Regions from separate parts of the Homo sapiens genome. Here region 2 is linked to region 1. Evidence: promoter capture Hi-C in 16 types of primary human blood cells and fetal thymus (Javierre and others, 2016). All regions are on one chromosome and are shown on one strand. The core of a region is centred on a gene start or on the middle of the fragment in contact, and the rest is flanking DNA. Distances in the headings are between cores, read along the strand shown. Region 1 holds the start of CEP20 (centrosomal protein 20). Region 2 has its middle 18 kb from the start of PDXDC1.

Region 1 (3,057 bases), core at 216-2,715:
CAAGCGATCCTCCCAAAGTGTTAGGATTACAGGCATGAGCCACTGTGCTTGGCCCATTCCAAGTGTACCTTTAAATCCTCTGAAAATGTATGCAATATTACATGTGATGTGTATTTCCCTGGGAACAGCATCTGTAGACTCGTGAAGTCTGTTCTTGTGGACAGATGCATGCCTGTTCTGTTTTATGATTGTTCACCAGCCCTGTCCCCAAATACACACTTTTATACACGTCTCCTCCCTAAAATATCTAAGAATTACTAGTTTAAACCCTGGGTTCCCTGCAAAGTGGAACTGGTTTTATTTTTTGGACAGCAATCTTGCTCAGTGATTAAGACCTGGCGCTCCAGTGCGTCACAACTAGGTTCCCATGCTGTGTCTCTTTCCAGTGAAATCACTTTGAGCTATTTCACTTCTCAGTACCTCGTTTCCCAGTCTATGAAATGGGCATAGGGTTGTTACAATCAGGTAACACACAGGCTGAGTTGAGTAGTGCCTGACACATGAGGCTCAATGATAACTATTATTACTATTACTTGTCTGGACATTTGCTTCAAAGTAAACAGCGTACAAATGTCATTAATGACTCAAACATAACTAGCTTAGAGTATCTTTTCCTGAAAAGACAGGAGAATGGCCAGGCCAGCAAACTTTTTGCCTCTAGTTTCTTCTGATGAAAAAGGGGCCAGGCGCTCACACCTGTAATCCCAGCACTTTGAGGGGGCCAAGGCAGGAGGATAGCTTGAGACCAGGAGTTCGACAGTAAGACCCCGTGTCTACAAAAAATACAAAAATTAGCCGGGCGTAGTGAAGAGCCCCTGTATTCCCACCTGCTCTGGAAGCTGAGGTGGGAGGATAGCTGGAGTCCCGGAGTTCGAAGCTGCAGTGAGCTGTGATCGCGCTACTGCACTCCAGCCTGGGCGACAGAGAGACCCTCTCTTTAAAAAAAAAAAAAAAAAGCAAGGAGGGGAGGGCTACTTAACAGGTTGTTGTAAGGACCCAACGAGACAACCAAGCAAATTGTTTAGGGCAGTGCCTAACCCAATAGGGGTTGTGGGAATTGTAGTCATCAGCCCTGAGTGCCAAGCCTGGTCCAAGTCCTCCAGCCCCCGGCAGGGTCCAAGAAGATGAGCCAGGGGCCCAAGATGCAGGCCTGTAGGCCTCTTAGATGCCTGAAGATTACGCAACTCCTCCTTTAGCTCCAAACTGGCTTAAAACTCGCCAGTGGGCAACCTCTTCCCCATAAGAGCTCCCCGCGCACGGGCCAAGACAGCAGCCAGACGCTCCCCGCAGGCCCTCACACCGAAGAATGACGCCTGTAAAAGCCAACCCATGTGTTCCGCGCGCTCTCCTCCCATCCCATCCTTTCCACAAGATGAAGGCCCGACGCTTCCCATGTGGAGGCCTCCCTGCTCGCACTCACCAGCCTTCAACTCTGCCACAGTCGCCATTTTTCAACGGCCGCCAGGGCCGCACCGCGGCCCTGCGCACGCGCAGCTCCGCCCCACTCACCCTGCGGCGTGGTCTGTAGCCAATAGGCGCACAGCTCTCGCCCCGCCCACTTCCGCCCCTCTCAGTTTATGAGCTCTGCGGTTGAGTGGGTAGTGAATGTCGACCAGAGACTCCACCAATCAGCGAGCGCTCTCGGAAGGCCCAGTTGAGTGAGACGGCAGGGAGGGCGGGGACTGAGGCAGTGGAGAGCCCTGTGGGGTGCTGCTGGCACCTTAGTGCTTAACTTTAGCCAGCTGAGTTTTTCATTGTCTCTGCAGCCTCAAGTACCAACTGCTAGTAGTTACCACCTATTAACCCTGCGGTTCTCAAACTTGAGCATGAATCCTCATCACCTCCAAGACTTGTTTAAACGGATTGTTTGCTAGTCCTCCCCATAGAGTTTCTGATTCTGTAAATCTGGGGTGAGGCCCTAGGATTTGCATTTCTATCGAGTTCCCAGGTGGTACTGGTACTGCTGGTCGGTCTGGAGATCACACCTCGAGAACCACTGTATTAAGCACTTACTGTGACGCCTTAGCGCATTATTTCCTTATGATCACGCCGTTTTTACAATGAAGGAAACAGAGTCCTCCATCGCTGAAGAGACTTAACCAAGGTCACCAGCCTGTCCTCTTCCACTCGCACTTACACAGTGCATGTAAGGAGTCCAGGAGCTTTTTATGGAACTAACTAATGAAGGAATAAGCTCCAACATCCCATGGAAGTAAAGGAAAAGGAACAGGGGAATAATGTACCCTAAACTGAGTGTGAGGTTGCATGATTCCAGTTGTAATGCCGGTGAGATCCAAACACTTGGCTAAATAATAAACATCGATTAGACGTACACCTAAGAGTGGCCGGGCGCGGTGGCTCACGCCTGTAATCCCAGCACTTTGGGAGGCCGAGGCGGGCGGATCCCGAGGTCAGGAGATCGAGACCATCCTGGCTAACACGGTGAAACCCTGTCTCTACTAAAAATACAAAAAATTAGCCGGGCGTGCTGGCGGGCGCCTGTACTCCCAGCTACTCGGGAGGCTGAGGCAGGAGAATGGCGTGAACCCGGGAGGTGGAGCTTGCAGTGAGCCGAGATGGCACCACTGCACTCCAGCCTGGGCGACAGAGTGAGACTCCGTCTCAAAAAAAAAAAAAAAAAAGTACACCTAAGAGCTGCCAGGGCACGGTGGTTTACGCCTGGAATCCCAGCACTTTGGGAGACTGAGGTAAGGAGTTCGAGAACAGCCTGGCCAGCCTGGTGAAACCCCCTCTGTACTAAAAAAAAAGTACAAAAATTAGCCGGGCGTGGTAGCAGGAGCCTGTAATCCCAGCTACTTGGGAGGCTGAGGCACAAGAATCGCTTGAACCTGGGAGGCAGAGGTTGCAGTGAGATGAGATCGCGCTACTGCACTCCAACCTGGACGACAGAGCGAGACACCGCCTCAAAAAAAAAAAAAAAAAAAAACCACCTAAGAGCAAGGAAACCTCTTTCCGAGGAACTTCCAGCATACTTTTGGTTCCATGCCTATTGTTTTTAAAACTGATACATTGGCCAGGTGCGGTGGCTCATCCCTG
Region 2 (3,099 bases), core at 223-2,722, 930 kb before region 1:
TTTTTTTTTTTTTGAGATAGGGTCTTACCCTGTTTCCCAGGCTGGAGTGCAGTGGCACAATCATAGCTCACTGCAACCTCAAATGCCTGGGCTCAACGTAGCTTCCTGCCTCAGCCTCCTGAGTAGCTGGGACTACAGGCACCCGCCACCATGTCCGGCTAATTTTTCTTTCTTTCTTTTTTTTTTTTGTATTTTTAGTAGAGATGGGGTTTCATCATGTTAGCCAAGATGGTCTCGATCTCCTGACCTTGTGATCCACACACCTTGGCCTCCCAAAGTGCTGGGATTACAGGCATGATCCACCGCACCTGGCCCTGATTTTAACTTCTCTTTTTTCTTTTTTTTTTTTTTTTTTTTTGAGACAGACTCCTGTTGCCCAGGCTCTGGAGTACAGTGGTGCGATCTTGGCTCACTGCAACTTCTCCCTCCCAAGTTCAAGCGATTCTCCTGGCTCAGCCTCTCCAGTAGCTGGGAATAAAGGCATGCGCTACCATGCCTGGATCATTTTGGTATTTTTAGTACAGACGGGGTTTCGCCATGTGGGCCAGGCTCGTCTCCAACTCTTGTCCTCAGGTGATCCGCCGGCCTCGGCCTCCCAAAGTGCTGGGATTATAGCCATGAGCCACCGTGCCTGGCCTTGATTTTTAGCTTTTAACTTTGAAATAACTACAGACTTTGAAAGAAGTTGCAAAAATAGTACAAAGAGTTACCACATACTCTTCATCCAAGCTTCCTGAAATATTGATATCTTACATGACCATAGTACAATGATCAAAACAAGGAAATAAGCACGGAAATCATACACGTACCTAATCTACAGATCTTATTCAAATGATCACCGATCGTCACCCTAAGGTTCTTTGTTCCCAGTCTGGCCTCCAATCCCAGATTGCTTCACATTGTGTTGAACTGTCAAATGGCCTTAGTCTCCAAGTGAGATCACTAACCGGCTATTCTGTAGGCTGTCCCTCAGTTTATCAACCCAGTTGTTATGGGCTAAATGATGCCCTCCAAAATTCATATATTGGAGCCCTAATTTCCAGTACCTCAGAAGGCGACTGTGTTTGAAGATAAGGCCTTTAAAATGGCAATTAAGTTAAAGTGAGACCTTTAGGATGGGCTCTAATCCAATCTGTCTGGTGTCCTTATAAGAAGAGGAAATTTGGGGGCATGGTTGGTGGCTCACACCTGTAATCCCAGCACTTTAGGAGGCTAAAGTAGGAGGATCACTTGAGGTACGAAGATCACTTGAGACCAGCCTGGCCAACATGGTGAAACCCCATCTCTACTAAAAATTAGCTGGGTGTGGTGGCACATGTCTGTAATCCCAACTACTTGGGAGGCTGAGGCAGGAGAATCGCTTGAACCTGGGAGAGGGAGGTTGCAGTGAGAGGAGATCGAGCCACTGCACTACAGCCTGGGTGACAGAGCAAGATTCCGTCTTTAAAAATAAAATAAAATAAAAAAAAAATTTGGACACACAAACAGGCACCAGGGGCCGGGCATGGTGGCTCATGCCTGTAATCCCAGCCCTTTAGGAGGCCAAGGCAGGAGGATTGCCTGAGCTCAGGAGTTCAAAACCAGCCTGGGCAACGTAGTGAGACCCTGTCACTCTCTCTCTCTTTTTTTTTATTTAAAAAATAAATAAATAAAACGAGGCACCAGGGATGTTTTCACACCAAGGAAAGACCATGTGAAGACACAGCAAGAAGGCAGCCGTGTGAAACTAACCCAGCAGGCACCCTGGTCTTGGACTTCTTGCCTCCAGAAGGGTGAGCAAATAAGTTTCTATTGTCTAAGCCACGCTGTGTGCGCTATTTTGTTATGGCAGCCCCAGCAAACTAATATATCCATTCTCTTCAGTTCTTGGAAATCTGCCCATTTCTATGTTCTCTGACCCTTTTTATCTGCCCGTTTATTGATTTATAGCCTTCTCCGGCTCCTTATCCTTGTTACTGGTCCGGAGTAAACTTCTGTTAGATTTCTCCCAGCTGGGCAGGCTTCCAGCTCACCAAAACATCTCCTTCTTTGCTTTTTACTTATATCCCCCTTGTATCATTTTTCCATGGCTGAGGTAACAAATTACCACGAATTTAATGGCTTAAAAGAACACAAACTTCTTGTCTTAGAATTTGGGGTGTCAGAGTCTAAAATGGGTCTGCAGGACTGCATTCCTCCTGGAGGTCCTAAAGGAGAGTTCATTTTCTTGCCTCTTCCAAGCTTCTAGATGCTCCCTGCACTCCTTGGCTCCCCATCCAACATCTTCAAAGTCAGCAGCATAAATCTTCCCATCTCCCTTTCTCTCTCTTTTTTTTAGACAAAGTCTTACTCTGTCACCTAGGCTGGAACGCAGTGGTACAGTCATAGCTCACTGCAGCCTCAAACCCCGAGGCTGAAGTGATCCTCCCGCCTCAGCCTCACGAGTAGCTGGGACCACAGGCATGCACCACCATGCCTGGCTGATTTTTAATTTTTTATAGAGACAGGCTCTTGCTATGTCACCAGGGCTGTCTTGAATTTGGGAGCCCGCGATCAGAAGCCAGCATGGTCGGCAGCTCCCTACACCACGTCCGGGCTTCCCGGGCCTCCAGCTGCCCCCTGCGCCGCCGCCGCCTCCCGCACCTGCACGTGGCCACTCCAGATGCTCCGGAGGGATTGAGCACCCCGCGCACACCCAGCTCACACCATCCAATCCGGAGGCCATGGGCCGACATGGGGGCTGAGCGTTTGAAATGAGCCCGGACCACCAGATGCATGGGTCCGTTCACACGAAATACCCAGAACAGGCAAAGCCACAGAGGCAGAAAGTATGGGGTTATTTATTTTAATTAATTAATTAATTGTTTTGAGACGTAGTCTCCTCTGTCGCCCAGGCTAGAGTGCCGATCCCTATGTTAGCTTGATGTGGTGGCTCATATCTGTAATCACAGCACTTTGGTAAGCTGAGGCGGGAGGATCGCTTGTCAGGCCAAGAGTTCAAGACCAGTCTGGGCAAAATAGTGAGACCCCCCTGCTATGGTTTGGATTTGGGTCCCTGCCCAAATCTCATGCCGAATTATAATCCCCAGTGTTAGGGGAGGGACCTGGTGGGAGGTGATT

Evidence for each region. Contacts are between HindIII fragments. The CHiCAGO score rates a contact against its expected background, and 5 or more counts as called.
Region 2: a contact is called between a fragment that was not itself captured here and the fragment with the promoter of CEP20 in region 1, in 4 of 17 cell types (naive B cells, total B cells, M0 macrophages and 1 more). The highest score is 9.5, in naive B cells.

What each region holds. Positions count from the first base shown.
Region 1 is chr16:15,887,138-15,890,194 of GRCh38, forward strand. CEP20 (centrosomal protein 20) reads right to left here and starts at 1,466. Exons shown (of 5, transcript NM_144600.4): 1 at 1,421-1,466. The coding sequence starts at 1,448. The HindIII fragment of the contact is 7,894 bases long and covers 1-3,057 here.
Region 2 is chr16:14,955,165-14,958,263 of GRCh38, forward strand. No RefSeq gene overlaps it. Among named protein-coding and RNA genes, the nearest start is that of PDXDC1, 18 kb to the right of the region's middle. The HindIII fragment of the contact is 1,491 bases long and covers 728-2,218 here.